Linked DNA regions of Homo sapiens: all the other regions are linked to region 1. Evidence: promoter capture Hi-C in 16 types of primary human blood cells and fetal thymus (Javierre and others, 2016). All regions are on one chromosome and are shown on one strand. Each heading gives the region's core, a stretch centred on a gene start or on the middle of the fragment in contact. The rest is flanking DNA. Distances are from core to core; before and after follow the strand shown.

Region 1 (3,128 bases), core at 336-2,835:
CAGATTACACCTGACTCATTCCCCATTTGAAGAATCACTTTTCCATTTCCCTCTAAGGTGCAAAGGAGGTAAAGCAAAGATAGACACAAAGTCATGGGAGCCACAAGACTCTTGTCCTGCCACTGAGCTAGCTAAGCAATCTAGCTCTCGACTTAAGGCAGAAAATTCAATGAGTAGGTAGCAGCCAGTGTTGGAAGCAGTCCAGGATGGTAGCACCAATGACAAGATTAAGGTCAGAGACCTCGTGATGCCCCGCTAGCCACCACGATTTTTCTGTTGCCTTCTGTTCATCCCACGTAGATACTATCTGGAAGCCCCCTCCCCAAAATGAAAACAACTGGAATTCTACGGCTTGCCCAAAATGCATAGAACACTCATATCTGGTTAAAACCATAGAAATCAAAAAGAAAAAGTGAAATGGCTATGAAGTATTTGCAAGGCCAATTTCACTTACTACTTGTTGGGAGTTGGAAACACTCAACAGTAAAATATCTAGGGATAATTACAACCCTTATGTAACACAAGTAAATCTTTCCCTTTTTTGTCACTTAGAGAAGCAACATAAATACATCTAGGACCAGGCCAGGGTAGTAATCAGAAAGAAAAATCTGTATTAGACATATTGAGGTCTTGACAGAGAAGTACTTCGTTTGTTTAGCCGTAGTTTTCCCTCAAGATCATGCGAAGGGGGTGATGTTGAAGACTGCTGGAGACTAAACTGTGTGTGTTGGAGGAAAGGGGGAAAGCTCAGCTCTCCCTATTTCTCCTCCAACTATTTGGTAAGACTCGGTGATAGAAAAACATCTCCTATACGAATGGCCTTGGTATGAACAGCCGCTTGGGATGACAGGCCACTATCCCACTACCCCTTGAGTCTTTCTGAGCTGCTCACCTGGTGCCAGAGAACTGGCAGATAAGTTTCTGCAGCTTTGCTCACTGCCATGAGGGGGGCTAGACATCACACTTTGGGTGAGGGGTAAACAAATCCAGAGATTGTAGGGCAACATAAGTTACCAACTGGCAGTTGCACCCATGACTGTCTTTCCTGAGGCGCTGAGTAGTGATTTAGCCAGATGACAGAAATACCTTTCGAGTCCCCTGCCCAGTTGTCTCCATCCACCACCCCCAGCCCCCGCCCTCTCCGAGTCTCCACTATACCAAAACCAGAATGAGGCGCCACTCAGACGAGAGGAGAGGGTGCAATGATTGTGGGACCCCTGCGCCCCTGCCCCGCCCGTGGGGTGCTAGCTGTGGCTGGTGCGAGAATGGGGTGCTGGCCCCCCTCCCTGGGGGTGGCCCGGTCCGGAAGCGGCGCGCGGTGGTAGTTCCCCGCGTTGCTGCAGCTGCTGCATTGCGCCATTTTCCGTCCCGCAGAATCGGGAGCTTGGGGCGAGAGTTGTCAAGGAGGTGCCGAGCCCCCACACCAGAGTCAACTCACATTTTTCTGACAGAGAGAGTGAGGGTCTGTTCCTCTCCGGAGGCTGCGGCGAGACACCCGGTGAGGGACGCTGCGGCTGAAGTGGACGGAACTGCCAAGCTCCGCCTCGCGCCGACTACCCCGCGGTCTAGCTGCGCTGGAACTTACTGCAGCTGCCGCGCCGGCCTCCGCCTTTATTAGTGCTGACCACGCCTCCCGGATAACGGTGACAACCCCGCGGCCCAATCCATGCCCAGGACGGTCGCCCAGCGCTACAGGCCTAGCCCGCCCCGCCCCTGCCAATTGCCAGTCACAACTCTCCTCTCATCCGACTCCGGAAAGGAGCGGTTGCTGTGAGGATCCTTCAGTGATCAATGCGACCATAGTTTGCGCTCCAGTCTGGCGGAGGGACGGGGCGGGGTGGAGATGAGGTCTGTCCCTTCGGAGGGCGCTTCAGCAGTTTGTTAGGCATTTGTGGTGCCTCCCAACCAATCGCTAGGCAGTTACTGAAGACCGTGCCCGCCCCTGCCCCACCCCGCGCCGGGACTCGCGCATTCAGCTGGAGGCGGCGGCTTCCTGGTGCGCGCCCAGCCCTGGTGCCCTGCTCTGGCCCTCGCTCCGCACCACCGCCCCGCCTCTAACTAACGCTCTGAGAGGGTGCAGGAGCCTCGAGACACAGCCACAAGCTCCTGGTGCCAGATACCGGATGCGGGGTTCCGTCCCACCAAAGCAAGCACGAAGCTTTCGTTCATTCGTTTCTTTCAACATAGCCTTCCTAAATTGAACTCCCTCCCAAACCTGCTCCAGTCGAGGTTACCACATCGACTCAGTTGCCCAGACCAGAAACGTGGAAACCATCCTAGATTTCCTCCCCTTCACCTTTACCTCTCCCCCAGTAATCTGCCAAATCGAGTTGATTTTTCCTTCTTGGCATTCCAGTGATTATCTCCCCTCTGCTCACTATTATCCCTTTCCTGGACTCCATCAGTTGGAAAATTCACCATTATTTTATGTCCCGCTAAGAAAAAAGGTTACAAGGCCGGGCGCAGTGGCTCACACCTGTAATCCCAGCACTTTGGGAGGCCGAGTCAGGCAGATTACCTGAGATCAGGAGTTCGAGACCAGCCTGGCCAACATGGCGAAACCTCTGTCTCTACTAAAAATACAAAACAGCCAGGCATGGTGGCGGGCGCCTGTAATCCCAGCTACTCGTGAGGCTGAGATAAGAGAATCGCTTGAAGCCGGGAGCCGACGGTTGCAGTGAGCCGAGATCACGCCACTGCACTCCAGCCTGGGCAACAGAGCAAGACCCTGTTTCAAAAAAAAAAAGAAAAAAGGTTGCAAATTATCTGTGACAAATGCTTTCCTTACCACTTAGCATTTTTGTTTTACATGTATTGAAAATATGGGTTTATATACATACCGATTTCTATATTTCACTCTTGTGCATGCATAAAAAGGGAAATAGAAAACAATAACATGGTAACTATCCCTAAAACTTCACAGAGACTGATTGTTAATGATTCACTTTTTTGACTCAGTCTTGGATGTCCACTAATTTCCACGCAATGTAGTCCTCTGTGCATTTCATAAGGGCTTTGGTGATGCAGCATTTCCTAAGAGTGTTCCTCTCCAGGCTCTAGAGTTTTCTTCCAAGCCTCAGACACCCATTTGGCAAGCTTTGATGCTCATGAGCAGGTATGACAAATAT
Region 2 (3,013 bases), core at 514-3,013, 430 kb after region 1:
GATTGCTTGAGCCCAGGAGTTTGAGACTAGCCTGGGCAACATAGCAAAACCTTGTCTCTACAAAAAATACAAAAAAATTAACTTGGCATGGTGGCGCACACCTGTAGTCCCAGGTACCCAGGAGGCTGAGACGGAAGGACTGCTTGAGCCCAGGAGGTGGACGTTGCAGTGAGCTATGATTGCTCCACCGCACTCCATCCTGGGCGACAGAGGGAAACTCTATTTCAAAACAAAAATAAAAACAAAATAACAAAAGTGTATGTTCAAGGACACCTTCCTAACCCTTACATCACAACTTTTCTTCCCATCTAATGTGTCTTCCTCTTTCTTCTTGGCCAAGGAAACTCATATCCATTTCTTTTGACTACATCAAACCACATGGATTTTTCCCTTCTCCACACTCCAACAATACAATAACTTTCATTTGTATAGCACATCTCACTCTTCAGAGTGTTCATATTTATTATTTCTTTTTCCTCACAGCAACCCCAGTACCAAGGACACAGGCCAGGGGTGGGGAGGAGCAGGAAAATGTTTACTAAGGGTCAACTAAGTGCAAGGCGATTTACCCACATTATCTCTTTTAATCCCTTAACAATCCTTACAGGTGGACGTTTTAATAATCCCCATTTCACGACTGTGGAAATTAGACCTCAGTAAGATTTCATAACCTGCTGAAGGACACACAGGTATTAAGTAGTAGAGATGGGTTTTGAAGCTGGTGTCTCTGACTTTAAAGTCCCTACTGGTTCCATGACACCAAGTAAACAGATTTGCCTATTAACCACATTCCTCCAAGCTGCCCTGGGCAGGAGGTAATATAATACTTCCTGATTTCTTGCCCACCACATCTTCCACCAGACCACTTTGCCGTTATATAAAGTCTGTGGGCACAATTTAACAATGAATCACATGCCATCTTACCTGGTTACCTCATTGTTTCATTTACATTAGATTCCACAACAAGATTGGTAACATCCCCCTTTCCCCAGGCAGGAATTGTGTCATCTTAACCTCCCTGAGCCTCAGTATCCTCTTCTTTCAAATGTCTATCTTACAGGACTGTTGCAGAGATTAAATATCAGTTGTAAAGATGTTTGACATAATGTCTCGCACAAACTCTCCAGAAATATTTATTGCATCTCAACATCTTTTTCATCTCCTTCAACATGTCAGACAGGCCTGAGTGCCTGGGTTTGGCTATGCCAGTTCCTGTTGATTACTGATATAACAACGTTGGATCAGGAGTATTTTAGTGGGCAGATGTTGAATTTTCTGCCTTCCACCCACTAAAAGGTTTGCATCAAACCAGTCCAGGATAACTCATACTGGATCCCTGTCAGTTGATATAGTTAAGCTAATTCTACAGATAACAAAGAGTCTTGGGTACGTTTAGCTAGCAAATGCAGATCTGCCAAGACTCCAACCCAGTTCTTAAGGTATCTGGGTCTGGACTCCTTCCGCTCCACCAAGCCACCTTCCAAAGGTCTACCTGAAAATAACTAATGAGCAGAAACTATAGGGGGAAGGGGAAAAGACCCCTTATCTTGGTGTTTCTTGCTTTTCCTCGCAGCCCCGCCCTTTTTGCTTCGAAGGACGAGTTTTTCCTGAATTCACAATACTTTTGCATTGAAGATGTCCGGTCCCTTTAAGGTCTTGGGTGACGTAATGACTAGCCCCGCCCCCTCTCTTCTCGCTTCTCAGCCCTGCCCACTTCTTTTTGTCCTCAGCCAATTAGCGGCCCAACGCCCCTTCCGCGCCTCATCCGGGTTCCCGGGACGGGAAAGTGGCGTGGTAACCAGGCAACTACTGATCAATCCCCTCCCCGGCTGATTTGCGCATCAGGTAGTCGCCGCTCTACTCTCAACGGTGGCGAGCTGCAGTTGCCAAGTGCCCCGTCCCCGTTGCCATAACAGCAGTACACAACCCCTCCTTCCCCTCGCCCGCTTGCTAAACAGTCCTTCCCTCTCGGGACCAAGGGCCTCTCCAGAACTGCTTCTGATTGAGCAGAAACAGGGTCTGAGCCCCTTTGCTAAGGCGAATTGAGTGGGAGGGTTGGAGACTGCGCTTTAGGCTGGTGTACCAGAGGGCCCAAGGAAATTGGCCCAGTGGGGAGGGAAAAGTAGAAGAAATGAATGGAGCAGGGATTACGGATGGCGCAATGGGAGCTGAGAGGAGAGGAGGAGGAATTGGTAGGGAAGATTGGAGAGCATGGCTTAAGGGGGAGGTGGGAAGAATGGGGGAGAGGGAAGCCCAGGAAATAGGGACACCCGGCTGCTGGAGGAGAGCTGGAGTCACTGTGAAGGACAGGAAAGGCCTGGGGGTGTGGGTGACATCCTGAAGGGAGGGGGTCCTCAGTGGAAAGTGTGAAGTGGGAGTTGAGAATCAAAATGAGATGTTCACAGGGATAAGGAAAGAAGCCTAGAGTTGGTGGGTCAGAAGTCATGGGGGTGATGGGAGTGGCACGTGTCAATGACGATGAAGGAGCTGAAGGCTGGCAGAAGCTGATGAGACCTTCTTTTTCAGGAGGAGGACTGAGCTTATCTGACTCCAGAGCTTTCAGGAGGGAAGAAAGATGTCAGATGAAGATGATCTAGAAGACTCTGAGCCAGACCAGGATGATTCTGAGAAAGAAGAGGACGAGAAGGAGACAGAGGAGGGGGAGGACTACAGAAAAGAGGGGGAAGAGTTCCCTGAGGAAGTGAGAGCCTGGACAAGGAGGGGTCCTAGGGCTGAAGGAGGGGGTTGGGCAGGGGAGAGACACCTTACTCCACTTCTACCTGCAGTGGCTGCCCACCCCCCTCACGGAGGACATGATGAAGGAAGGGCTTTCTCTGCTCTGTAAGACAGGCAATGGGCTGGCTCATGCTTATGTCAAGCTGGAGGTTAAAGAGAGGTGCGTTTTGGGGGGACCAGATGAGGACTGTGAGACTGTAGGGCCCCTATCTCCTTTCCCACTGTCATTCCTGGGTGTTCTGGTTGAGAGTTTGACTCTTCTCATGCCTAGTGGAAA
Region 3 (2,956 bases), core at 9-2,508, 420 kb before region 1:
CGCCCACCTCGGCCTCCCTAAGTGTTGGGATTACAGGCGTGAGCCACTGTGCCTGGCCAATCAGGATGTTTCTAACTGGTCTTCCCTAGTAGACTATCAGGTACTGTGTCTGGTGACTGGATTTCCCTCTGTCGCCCGGGCTAGAATGCAGTGGCGCGATCACAGTTCACTGCAGCCTTGGCTTCCTGGGCTCAAGCAATCTTCCCACCTCAGTATTTCAAGTGGCTGGGTCTACAGGTATGCACCACCATGGCCAACTATTTTTTTTTCTTTGTATTTAGGGACAGGGCCTCACTATGTTGCCCAGGCTGCTCTCAAACTCCCAGGCTCAAGCATTCCTCCCACTTCCACCTCCCAAAGTGCTGGGGATTACAGATGTGAGCCACTGCCCCAGCCTGGCTCATCTTTAGACCACCAATTCTTAGCCAGAACTAAGACAGAACAGGTGACAGGTAAGTGTTTGCTCAACAAATGTCCTGTTGTAAATTTCTTCCACGCTCATGGCAACCCTGTTGAAACCGACTGTCACAGAAGGCCTAGGCAAAGAGCTGCAGGAAGCAAGCATGATTTGGAGCTATTTTGGGGAAGTGCATGAAGCAGGTCAGGGTAGCAATGCCCCATGGAGGCAGCGCTGCAGTGGTCCATGTTCTTCCTGCTCAAATGCTTCAGCTTGAGAATACTGAAAGCAGGCTGGAAAGGAGGGTGACAGGCAGATCTCCCTTTTCCTGTTCCAGAAAAGGAAAACTGAGACCTAAAGCCCAGAAATGGGGGCCAACACATAACAGTTGGCAATAAAACTCAAGAACTCCTACTGCCAGCCAGGAATCCCAGTTCCCTGTGTAGTAAGGAAGTCAGAAGACCTGGACCAAATCCCAGCTCCGCTTCTGACTTGCTGTACAGTTCTGGACAAGTCACTTCCTTCCTTGGGCCCCAGTTTACCCATCCATGAAGTAAAGGACTTGGGGGTCCCGTTTTCCTCCCCAGCTCTGCTGTTTTAGAGGTCCCTGACACTGCTGCCTGCACTTACCACATGGTGTGATGGTCTGAGAAGATGTCTTCTGGCTGGAAGATCTCACCGTCATAGTAACAGGGGCACTGGGCCTTGGGCACGCAGTCCCCCCTCTCATCCATGTAGAGCCCTGGGGGGCAGAAGCAGCCCTCCAGGCAGGCCTCATTGCATTCCTCATCCGGGTAAGAGAGAGAGCGGCAGGTCAGGTTGCAGGGGGTCCCGCACTGCAGGTACACCTGGCCTTTCGGGCAGTTCAGCTCTAGAAGAGAGAGGAGAAGTAAGGCCTCAGCGGGAATGTTGGACAGCAAGGACTGTGGTTCTAGGACTTGCCACCCCTTGTAGCTGTGACCCCCAATTATTTAATTAAAATTTTTATTGAGATAATTGTAGACTTGCTTGCAATTACAAGAAGTAATGCAGAAAGATCCCATGTACCCTTTACCCAGTTTTCCCCAAGTGACCCCCAATTATATCTGTATGGTCATCAACTTCCTTTCCCACTATGAGCAAATGTGTATTTTTCAGCATGCAGATATGTATTATAATTATGGGGGCACACATTTTCTCCTTTCCTCAACCACAGGGAATGTGCATTAGTCATCTCTGAATTCTCAAAGCCTAGGATGTAGTAGAAATCCTGGCAGGTTTTGAAGCTGTGAATATTAAAAAGTACTGGGAATGACGGGCAAGGGCATACCCCGTGACAACAATGAGTACCATTTATGGAGCACCTACTGAATGCCTTGCTCTTACGTGGGCTCTATGCCTCATGCCGAGTTAGCTCTCATCACCCCCTTTCAAGAAACTTAGGCTGAGTGACTTGTTAGGGGTATACCTCACAGGAAGAAGCAGAGGAAGGATTTGAACTCAGCTCTCTGCAGCCCTAAAGCTCATGCTCATAACCCTTACTCTCTAGAAAGAAAACAGTCCCTTTGAGGACATGCTGGTCCCAAAGAGGAGGGACACTCATGCCTACCACAGCGAAATGGGCTGCACCCATCTGCCCACAGCCCTCACCCTCCCTAGCCTCCCACAGAAAAATACTGCAAGAGACACAAGCCAGAAGGAAGTGTAGCAAAGTGGCAACGCAGCTAAGGGAACGGGCTCTGTATCCCAAATACCTGGGTTCACGCCCAGGTCCACCACTAGCTGGCTGTGTGATCTTGGGCAGTATCCTCACTGGATGGAATAACAGTATCCACCCAGTCTTTGTGAAGGTTGAATGAGCTAACACATTTAGAAGAATGTCTGGCATGTGGAGAATGTTCACTGCTAATAATGTTCACTGATAATAATTATTATTCTTATTGCTAAGGAAACAGCCCCAGCTCAGCGGTCCCAAGAAGGAAGGAGTGTTCCAGAGAAAGGCCTAGGCCTCAGAAGCTCTGGCATTCTGGTGACAAAATTCCTTATGGGCAGGGTAGAGGACAGGGAAGGTGTGGGGAGCATTCTGCCCTTTCAAAATGCCTTCCCTGTGCAGACCAGCTGCTGCCCAAGAAATGAGAACCTCACCCTGGGCATGCTTCTTCTGAGACCATCACAATCCTTCCCCTCTCTGTTCAAATCCATTGCTCCAGCAGAAACCTACTGGCAGGGCATTTCACAGATGTTATAAAAGTAAGCCTTGGCCGTGAGCCTGAACAATGGAGTGGGGAGCCTCTGGAGAGACCCTGCAGCCTCCCGCTCCTACAACCACCCTGAACTTGGTGTTTGAAGGTAGCTGGGAAGGGAGGGCCTCTTTAATCCTATTAGACATTGATTTTTCTCTGCAAGAATGGAAAGGTTGGATTATTGGATGAATACTGAGGGAGTGTAGGTTAAGACAGGATGTGTTAGACAATAAAGATGGAGATGTCTTTCAACCACCTGAGCCTACAATGACAAGGGCACATTTTACCCATTAAAAAGCAGCTAGACTTGAGAACTTTCTTTGTTCTGATAGGCTAT
Region 4 (3,015 bases), core at 240-2,739, 270 kb before region 1:
CACATATTTACTATTTCACAATTCTAGAGGTCTGAAATCTAAAATGGGTGGGCAGGGCTGTGTTGGATCCCTCTGGCAGCTGCAGGGGAGAATTCGTTTCTTCGCCTTCTCCAGCTTCTAGAGGCTGTCCTTGTTCCCCAACACACAGCTGTGCATCACTGCGACCTCTGCTTCTGTCGTCACATCTCCTTCCCTGGCTTTGACACTTCCACCTGTCTCTTATAAGAACCCTTTGGATTCCACTGGGCCCACTGGGATGGTCCAGGCTATGCCATGGAAAGTAACACATTCACAGTTTTGGGGATTGGAACGTGGGCCTATTTGGAGGGCCGTTAGAAGTGGAAACGGGCCAGGCACGGTGGCGCACGCCTGTAATCCCAGCACTTTGGGAGGCTGAGGTGGGCGGATCACCTGGGGCCAGGAGTTCAAGACCAGCCTGACCAACAGGAGGAAACCCCATCTCTACTAAAAATATAAAAAATATAAAAAATATAAAAAACACGGTGGCTTACGCCTGTAATCCCAGCACTTTGGGAGGCTGAGGTGGGTAGATAACGAATTCAGGAGTTCAAGACCAGCCTGGCCAATATGGTGAAACCCCGTCTCTACTAAAAATACAAAAATTAGCTGGGCATGGTGGTGTGCGCCTGTAGTCCCAGCTACTTGGGAGGCTGAGGCAGAAGAATCACTTGAACCCGGGAGGCAGAGGTTGCAGTGAGCCAAGATCGTGCCACTGCACTCCAGCCTGGGTGACAAAGCGAGACTCCGTCTAAAAAAAAAAAAATTATTAGCCGGGCATGGCAGCGCACACCTGTAATTCAATCTGCTTGGGAGGCTGAGGCAAGAGAGTCTCTTGAGCCCAGGGATGGAGGTTGTAGTGAGCCGAGATTGAGCCACTGCACTCCAGCCTGGGCAACAGAGCGAGACTTGGTCTCAAAAAAAAAAAATCTGCAGGCTCTTGGATATCAGGACTTGCATTTACAGAGAGATGAGTTAAACAGAGAAAATGGTGGAAGGCACAAAAGGGGATGAGTGCTCCAGGAGAGGTCTGAGAGAGAAGGGCAGGGGCCTGAGAAAGCCCCACGCCCAGCCGTCATTCTGCAGATGTTTGCAGAGGGCCTGCTCTGGGCCAGGAAGGGACCGGGAGCTAGGGAGAGCACAGAAATTAATCAAATGCAAGTGCACCCTCGAGGAGCTCACTACCAAGAAGTGGACACATAAAGGAAGATGATGATGACCAGAGAATCACACATGCGAGACTCAAGGTAATCCACGGAGAAAAAGACTGGAGTGCTCCAGGAAGGCTTCATAAGGTGGTGTATTTGAGCTTAGAAAGAGGAACAGGAGAGAAGCTTCTAGAAGTGAAGGAGGTGAATCAAGATGGCCACTGGTGTGGTGGCTGGAAGGGCCTTGGTGGCCTGTGAGAGCGAGGGTCCTACCTGTTGCCTTACAAAGCCATTGCCCACAGCTGGAGGGACCTGGGGCATGGGTGTGACGGCTCATTAGGTCACCTGGCCTCTGCGTGTTCAAATCTTACCACCAGGGGGGGCACAAGAGCCAAAGTGGACCCTGAGCCTGAGCTGGGGTTTCTTTCCCAGAGACAGGACGCCTTGAGGGAAGGGAGGAAAAGCTTTCCCACTCCAGCACCACAAAGCCTGGAAGGCCTGGCTGCTTCCATGTGATTTCTGACTCAGGGGCTTACCCATATTTTCCTCTTCCGGTTAAGGCAAAACATAATTTTTCCATCGCTCACCTTCCTGGTTGCCTGTAGCACTAACTGTCTGTAACAAATGCACTTTGGCCCAGGGGTTTATTGTGACACAGAATGTCAGGAGGAATGAAAGACACCTCCTGATCCAAAATGCTGTGAACCAAAAAGTATCTGAGACAGGTCTCAATCAATTTAGAAAGTTTATTTTGCCAAGGTTACAGATGGGCGCCCAGGAGGCAGATCTGTGCCTTCTGCAAAGATGATTTTGAGGGCTTCAATATTTAAAAGGCGGCTGGTGGGGAAAGAGGAAGAAAGTTTTTTTAAGGTGTGGGTAGGTAAGAAACAAACGGTTGCATTCTTTTGAGTCACTGATCATCCTCTCACTGAATGCACAATTTACATGGCAGAGGAGGGTAGAGAAATAAGTCACTTATGCCTTGTCTAGCACAGCGAATCTTCATTTTTACATTGGAGGAAGCAATCAGATATGCATTTGTCTCAGGTGAGCAGAGGGATGACTTTGAGTTCTGTCCTTTTTTCTGTACCTGTGAAGATATGCTATCAATTTACATTGTCATGGTGAAATTCAACAGAACTGTTTTAGGGCAAATATCATAGGGTCCACCAGAAATTTCCTCATGGGCAAATTGTGAAAGAAGTGCATAGCTGCTTTTTTTTTTTTTTTTTTTTTTGAGACGGAGTCTGGCTGTGTCCCCCAGGCTGGAGGGCAGTGGCGCGATCTCGGCTCACTGCAAGCTCTGCCTCCCGGGTTCACGCCATTCTCCTGCCTCAGCCTCCTGAGTAGCTGGGACTACAGGCGCCCGCCGCCACGCCCGGCTAATTTTTTTGTATTTTTAGTAGAGACGAGGTTTCACCGTGTTAGCCAGGATGGTCTTGATCTCCTGACCTCATGATCCTCCCGCGTCGGCCTCCTAAAGTGCTTGGATCACAGGTGTGAGTCACAGCGCCCAACAAGAAGTGCATAGCTTTTTTTGTTTTTTCTTTTTGAGACGGAGTCTCACTCTGTCGCCAGGCTAGAGTGCTGTGGCGCGATCTCGGCTCACTGCAACCTCCAACTCCCTGGTTCAAGGGATTCTCCTGCCTCTGCCTCCCGAGTAGCTGGGATTATAGGTATGCGCCACCATGCCTGGCTAATTTTTGTATTTTTAGTAGAGATGCGGTTTCACTATGTTGGCCAGGATGGTCTCGATCTCCTCACCTCGTGATCCGCCCACCTTGGCCTCCCAAAGTGCTGGGATTACAGGCGTGAGCCACTGCGCCCGGCCGAGAAGTGCATAGCTTTT
Region 5 (3,062 bases), core at 279-2,778, 260 kb after region 1:
GGGCACGGTGGCTCATGCCTGTAATCCCAGCACTTTGGGAGGCTGAGGTGGGCGGATCATGAGGTCAGGAGATGGAGACCATCCTGGCTAACATGGTGAAACCCCGTCTCTACTAAAAATACAAAAAATTAGCCGGGTGTGGTGGCGGGCGCCTGTAGTCCCAGCTGCTTGGAAGGGTGAGGCTGAGGTTGCAGTGAGTTGAGTTCGAGCCACTGCATTCCAGTCTGGGCGACAGAGCGAGACTCCATCTCAAAAAACAAGACAAAAACGAAAAACAGGGCCAGTCATGGTGGCTCATGCCTCTCATGCCTGTTCTCAGCACTTTGGGAGGCCGAGGTGGGTGGATCATGAGGTCAGGAGTTCAAGACCAGCCTGGCCAAGATGGCAAAACCCCGTCTCTGCTAAAAATACAAAAATTAGCCGGGCGCGGTGGCAGGCGCCTGTAATCCCAGCTACTCGGGAGGCTGAGGCAGGAGAATCACTTGAACCTGGGAGGCAGGAGGTTGCAGTGAGCCGAGATTGCACCACTGCATTCCAGCCTGGGCAACAGAGTGAGACTCTGTCTCAAAAAAAAAAATAAATAAATAAATAAAACAAACAAAAGCTCATGTATCCCAGAACTTAAAGTATAATTTAAAAAAAAAAAAAAGGGAGGCGGAGGTTGCAGTGAGCCGAGGTCGCGCCACTGCACTCCAGCCTGGGTGACAGTGTGAGACACCATCTCAAAGAAAAAGAAAAAGAAGCACTTATTAAGTGGCTCTTTACTACCCTTCTTATGGTCTGGGAATACAAGAAAAGCACCAGGCATGGAGCTTACCCTTCTGAAGCTTGCATTCCAGTTGAAGAGAGAAGATGAATGGATAGAAATCTGAATTATTTATTTATTTAGCAAGTATTTCTTGCGAGGCAATTACTGCATAGCTCTGTGGGATACCTGAGACTGGGTCTATAATCTTGTTGAAAGATATTCTTAGGTAGCAACCTTCTGCAAGGATTGATTGATTAAGTGCCAGAATGAAGCTGAGCACAGTGGCTCACGCCTATAATCCCAGCACTTTGGGAGGCCAAGGCAGGTGGATCACCTGAGGTCAGGAGTTCGAGACCAGCCTGGCCAATGTGGCGAAACCCTGTTTCTACTAAAAATACAAAAATTAGCCTGGTGTGGTGGTGCACGCCTGTAATCCCACCTGCTTGGGAGGCTGAGGCAGGAGAATTGCCTGAACCTGGGAGGCGGAGGTTGCAGTGAGCCAAGATCGCGCCACTGCACTCCAGCCTGGGTAACAGAGGGAGACTCTGTCTCAAAAAAAAAAAAAAAAAAAAGTGCCAGAATGAGTGATCCATGATAGGAGGAGAGGAAATCTGGGTGGACTGGGCTGGGTGATGCAAGACAGTGTCCTGGTCAGGTGTGTCTGAAGCAGAGACCATAAGTTTAGATGTCTTTCTAGGCTGTGCAGCTGTCAGAGATGAGTGAGGCTGAGGCAGGAGTCTGGTGAATTGGGGAGTACTGGAGACTGTCTAGACATATTCCAATTTAGAAACATCAAACACTCTGAGGGCAGGCAACACAATTTGCAGTGTCTGGTGTGTATGTCTGTTTGACTCTGAAAACTGAATGTCTTCAACTCTGAATTTAGGGTAGGAATTGGATGACGTATGGAGCAAGAGGGCATTGTGGTTTGGGAGAATAGTGTAAACAAAAGCCTGAAGGTGGAAATGAGCCCTTCCTATGTGAAGAGTGATCAGAGAGGCAGAGAACTCCTTTTGGTGAGCCAGGAGAGTTAACATTGGCCGGGAAAGATGGGGCCAAAAAGTGGAGTTCCAAACAGGGTAAGGCTGGGAGGGTGGAGAGGGAAGACTTCCCGTCACCTCCTTTTTCCTCATTCTCGCAGCTGGCTGAGAGTGACTTTGCCTCTACCTTCCGGCTGCTCACAGTGTTTGCTTATGGGACATACGCTGACTACTTAGGTAACCAGAGGGGTTGGTGCTCTGGAGTAATGGAGATGGGAGAAGGGCAATTTCTGGAGGGACTCAGAAGAAATTCCTGGGATATCCCACTTAGATCCCTGGATGCATAGGGTCAGGGTCAAGACCTGAATTGGCATTGAAAGTGGGAGGGAAGGGAAGGAGGCTAGGGCTTCCCAGAAAACTGAAATCAGGATTCCTTACACTTTGTCGTTTTTCCCTAGCTGAAGCCCGGAATCTTCCTCCACTAACAGAGGCTCAGAAGAATAAGCTTCGACACCTCTCAGTTGTCACCCTGGCTGCTAAAGTAAAGGTGAGTGGCAGTCCCCCAGTCCTACGGTCTAGAGCATCCTTTTGTATGTCCTTGGGAGTCCACACTAGGACAGCCCTTGTCTAGACCGTGGCTGCTTCCTGCCCTCCCCTCCTCCAAGGTCTGTATATAAACTCCATTAGCAACTGTTTAGGCTGATAGTATTCTTAGTTTTCTGTGTTGTTTTTATTTTTTAATCAACTTAAGTTCTAAATAAACATCTTCTGTGGTTTTGGTCAAAATAGCAACTAGGATGTTGTTCAGGTGTCGTTCAACAATACCTTCTTCCCCACTGCTGGAAACAGGGCTCTCCTGATGAAGTGCTAGGCTTCTCTTTGTTAGGATAAAACATATATATTCTAGAAGTATCTCTGTATTCCTGTTAGGCTGTTTTTTGTCTAATATCACCACCCACCTCCCCAGCCTGCCCAGTCTGCAACCTCGCAATAGTTACTTGACTCTCAGTTGTCCTTGGGATTTAATTTAAACCAGGCTCTCTATTGAGAGATACCTCCAAAGGAATGCCCGTTGCAGGTAGGCAGAGTATAAATGATAAACAGTAACTCCACACCTCTCCCACTTCTGCTTACTCCCCTGTATCAAGCTGATCTTGACTAAGGACTGGGTGATACCCTGAGCTGTGGCTAAAGGAGTGACACCCAGGCAGATGTCATTTTCTCCTTCTGTGGTGTGTCAGGGGTGAGGGTGTTAGGGGAGCATTTTGTATTTTATTTAAGATTGTCCTTCTAATGATGCTGTTTTTGAAGTGGGAATACTTTTATTTATTTTG
Region 6 (3,173 bases), core at 100-2,599, 470 kb after region 1:
GAAACCCCATCTTAAGACAAAATCAGCTGGGGGTTGTGGTGCACTTGTGGTCCCAGCTACTCAGGAGGCTGAGGTGGGAGGATCACTTGGGGGTCGAGGCTACAGTGAGTCATGATCGCACCACTGCACTCTAGCCTGGGTGACAGAGCAAGGCCCTATCTCAAAACAAACAAACAAAAGACACCCCAACCAACCAAACACTAGAGGCCTGGGACAGGCCCACCTCTGACGTGGTCAGTTCTAGGAATCTATTCAGACGGGTCTCACTGCTAGGAGCCACCAGAGTCCTCCGGAACAAGGGCTTCAGAGTCCTGAAACCTTTCCGTGGAATACTTTAAGAAACGGTTATGAGGCCAGGCGCGACGGCTCACGCTGGTAATCCCAGGACTTTGGGAGGCCGAGGCGGGCGGATCACGAGGTCAGGAGTTCCAGACCAGCTTGGCCAACATGGCAAAACCCTGTCTCTACTAAAAACAAAACATTAGCTGGGCATGGTGGCGCGCGCCTGTCGTCCCAGCGACTTGGGAGGTTGAGGCAGGAGAATCGCTTGAACCCGGGAGGTGGAGGTTATGGTGAGCCAAGATCCCCCCCAGCTGCACTCCAGCTTGGCGACAGAGCAAGACTCCGTCTCAAAAACAAAAAACAAAGCCGGTTATGAAGCGGGGGTGGGGTGGGCTAGTTTTAATAGGTCCAGGCGATTAGTACCTGGCATCCTTAACCACCTACAGTTTGAGAAGGGAGTGGGTGATAAAAGCCTGGAAGGGAAGGGAAATCGGGCCGGGCATTAGGCTCCATCGCTCATCAATAGACAAGGCCTTTAGGAAACTGCGACAACGGCTTTTGCTCTGGGCCTTTACTGCCGAATCCAGGTCTCCGGGCTTAACAACAACGAAGGGGCTGTGACTGGCTGCTTTCTCAACCAATCAGCACCGAACTCATTTGCATGGGCTGAGAACAAATGTTCGCGAACTCTAGAAATGAATGACTTAAGTAAGTTCCTTAGAATATTATTTTTCCTACTGAAAGTTACCACATGCGTCGTTGTTTATACAGTAATAGGAACAAGAAAAAAGTCACCTAAGCTCACCCTCATCAATTGTGGAGTTCCTTTATATCCCATCTTCTCTCCAAACACATACGCAGCAGTGTTACAGCTCTTTTAGAATTTGTCTAGTAGGCTTTCTGGCTTTTTACCGGAAAGCCCCTCTTATGATGTTTGTTGCCAATGATAGATTGTTTTCACTGTGCAAAAATTATGGGTAGTTTTGGTGGTCTTGATGCAGTTGTAAGCTTGGGGTATGAAGGTTTGGGCCACGCCTGGGCGCTTCCGGCTGCGCCGGATGCTGTTTCCTTTCCGCTCCCAGGGGCGTTGGGAACGGTTGTAGGACGTGGCTCTTTATTCGTGAGTTTTCCATTTACCTCCGCTGAACCTAGAGCTTCAGACGCCCTATGGCGTCCGCCTCGACCCAACCGGCGGCCTTGAGCGCTGAGCAAGCAAAGGGTGAGAATCGTCCTAGTCAAGGCATAGGCTGCTGGCCTGGGGTAGTCAAGGCATGGGCTGCTGGTCTGGGGAGGATGCGGGCGGAGGATGTGGGGCGACAAACCTGGCTACGTCCGCCGGGAAAATGGGGTAGGGGACGCCGGGTACCGTCCTTCTAAGTGGGGCGCTTGCCCCCAAGACTTGGGATCTTATTGGGTTACCTACAGCCTCAATCCACTAATTCCTTGCGCTCTCCGCTGGGCCCGCTGTCTGTTCTCCGACGCCTACCCGGGACGCCTCCCTGGGATGCTTCTGGCGCGCAGTGGTCCTCGCGGAGGTGATCCAGGCGTTCTCCGCCCCGGAGAATGCAGTGCGCATGGACGAGGCTCGGGATAACGCCTGCAACGACATGGGTAAGATGCTGCAATTCGTGCTGCCCGTGGCCACGCAGATCCAGCAGGAGGTTATCAAAGCCTATGGCTTCAGCTGCGACGGGGAAGGTGGGTCAGACGCGGGAAGGCGGGTCAGACGCGGGAAGGCGGGAGTTGGGTCGGGAGAGGGCGCCGGATCTGTGGGCCCATGAGCGGTTGTCCCCTTTCTCGCCACACGGCGGCAGCCACAATCTGACTAACATTCTTGGCACTCAGAGCCCAGGGTCTACCCTGAGCTTGTGCGTCCGAGTTGCGTTTTGTACAGTAGAGGTTCTGTATCCCTTACCCGAAATGGTTGGGACCGGAAGTGTTTCGGGTTTTTTCAGATTTCGGAATATTTACATATACATGGATATCTTGGGGGATGGGACCTAAATCTGAACACGAAATTGTTTTGTTTCATATACACGCACCTTATGCACATAGCCTGAGGGTAATTTTATATAATAGTCTGAATAATTTTGTGCATGAGACAAAGTTTTGACTGCGTTTTGACTACAGTCTCCCCCACCCCCCACTATGAAGTCAGGTGTGGAATTTTCCATTTTCGGCCTCACACTGGCACTCATAATTTCAGATTTTGGATTTTCTAATTAAGGATGGTCAACCTGTACTGTTAATCACATTATTATTCCATTTTGTGATGAGGAAGCAAACTCTAATGGTGCAGACTCTCGAGTAGCAGAGCTGGACTTAAATGCTGTTGTGCCACCTTTTAGTGACATGTCTGCATGACAGCAGTGGCTGCAGTCTCTCCAGGGTGTTTCAGCTAATTTTTGTTTGGGGGGGGTTGGTGGTTAAATTTTTGGTGAGATCCTGGTGTTCCCCAAAGGTGTTGACTGATTCAGCTCTGCTGCCTCATAGCCTTCCTGAGTTCCAGCTACAGACCTGGGGTCTCGTGTTCATTCTTGGGGTTCCAGTGACTAAACTGCTAAAATGGTTCACCTGAGAGCAAGAAGCACACTGCCTTGGGACATTTTCATTCACTGCATCCCATCTAGTTGTGCCCAGTGTAGACCAAATGTCATCATCCAAACCACACGGGACAGAGGCCTGCATGCGTCCTGTTTGGCAAACAGCTGCCCAGCCAGTGGGGGAGCAGTTCATGCTTAGACTACCACCCCCTCCAGGTGTCTTAGGCACGCTGGTCCTTAGGAGAAGGGTTGACCTTCCACTCCCTCTTGCAGGTGTCCTTAAGTTTGCTCGCTTGGTCAAGTCCTACGAAGCCCAGGATCCTGAGATCGCCAGCCTGTCAGGCAAGC

What was found. The method cuts DNA at HindIII sites, captures the fragments that hold promoters and counts their contacts. A CHiCAGO score of 5 or more calls a contact.
Region 2: the fragment with the promoter of LRRC23 here is called in contact with the fragment with the promoter of VAMP1 in region 1 in 1 of 17 cell types (activated CD4 T cells); the score reaches 6.3 in activated CD4 T cells.
Region 3: a fragment that was not itself captured here is called in contact with the fragment with the promoter of VAMP1 in region 1 in 3 of 17 cell types (M0 macrophages, M2 macrophages and naive CD8 T cells); the score reaches 6.1 in M0 macrophages.
Region 4: a fragment that was not itself captured here is called in contact with the fragment with the promoter of VAMP1 in region 1 in 6 of 17 cell types (total B cells, naive B cells, naive CD8 T cells and 3 more); the score reaches 10.2 in total B cells.
Region 5: a contact is called between a fragment that was not itself captured here and the fragment with the promoter of VAMP1 in region 1, in 3 of 17 cell types (total CD8 T cells, activated CD4 T cells and naive CD8 T cells). The highest score is 6.2, in total CD8 T cells.
Region 6: the fragment with the promoter of C12orf57 here is called in contact with the fragment with the promoter of VAMP1 in region 1 in 1 of 17 cell types (activated CD4 T cells); the score reaches 5.1 in activated CD4 T cells.

The regions. Positions count from the first base shown.
Region 1 is chr12:6,469,092-6,472,219 of GRCh38, forward strand. VAMP1 (vesicle associated membrane protein 1) reads right to left here and starts at 1,586. Exons shown (of 5, transcript NM_014231.5): 1 at 1,439-1,586. The coding sequence starts at 1,440. It also overlaps a transcript of TAPBPL not described here. RefSeq lists silencers at 1,068-1,117, 1,618-1,667, 1,878-2,137. The HindIII fragment of the contact is 5,218 bases long and covers 1-2,156 here.
Region 2 is chr12:6,903,059-6,906,071 of GRCh38, forward strand. It overlaps LRRC23 (leucine rich repeat containing 23), which reads left to right and starts at 1,764. Exons shown (of 8, transcript NM_001135217.2): 1 at 1,764-2,017; 2 at 2,527-2,701; 3 at 2,787-2,896. The coding sequence starts at 2,576. The HindIII fragment of the contact is 20,869 bases long and covers 1-3,013 here.
Region 3 is chr12:6,051,516-6,054,471 of GRCh38, forward strand. VWF (von Willebrand factor) reads right to left here. Exons shown (of 52, transcript NM_000552.5): 16 at 1,028-1,268. Among named protein-coding and RNA genes, the nearest start is that of SNORA120, 13 kb to the left of the region's middle. The HindIII fragment of the contact is 7,611 bases long and covers 1-2,956 here.
Region 4 is chr12:6,194,308-6,197,322 of GRCh38, forward strand. No RefSeq gene overlaps it. Among named protein-coding and RNA genes, the nearest start is that of CD9, 4.6 kb to the right of the region's middle. The HindIII fragment of the contact is 278 bases long and covers 1,351-1,628 here.
Region 5 is chr12:6,726,037-6,729,098 of GRCh38, forward strand. It overlaps COPS7A (COP9 signalosome subunit 7A), which reads left to right. Exons shown (of 8, transcript NM_001164094.2): 3 at 1,890-1,965; 4 at 2,187-2,275. Among named protein-coding and RNA genes, the nearest start is that of COPS7A, 3.5 kb to the left of the region's middle. The HindIII fragment of the contact is 1,406 bases long and covers 826-2,231 here.
Region 6 is chr12:6,942,673-6,945,845 of GRCh38, forward strand. It overlaps C12orf57 (chromosome 12 open reading frame 57), which reads left to right and starts at 1,350. Exons shown (of 3, transcript NM_138425.4): 1 at 1,350-1,501; 2 at 1,804-1,980; 3 at 3,099-3,173. The coding sequence starts at 1,450. RNU7-1 (RNA, U7 small nuclear 1) reads left to right here and starts at 1,144; the gene lies at 1,144-1,206. RefSeq lists enhancers at 1,158-1,737, 1,237-1,426, 1,727-1,846, 1,738-2,317, 1,857-2,006 and 2 more and a silencer at 1,640-1,899. The HindIII fragment of the contact is 10,579 bases long and covers 1,289-3,173 here.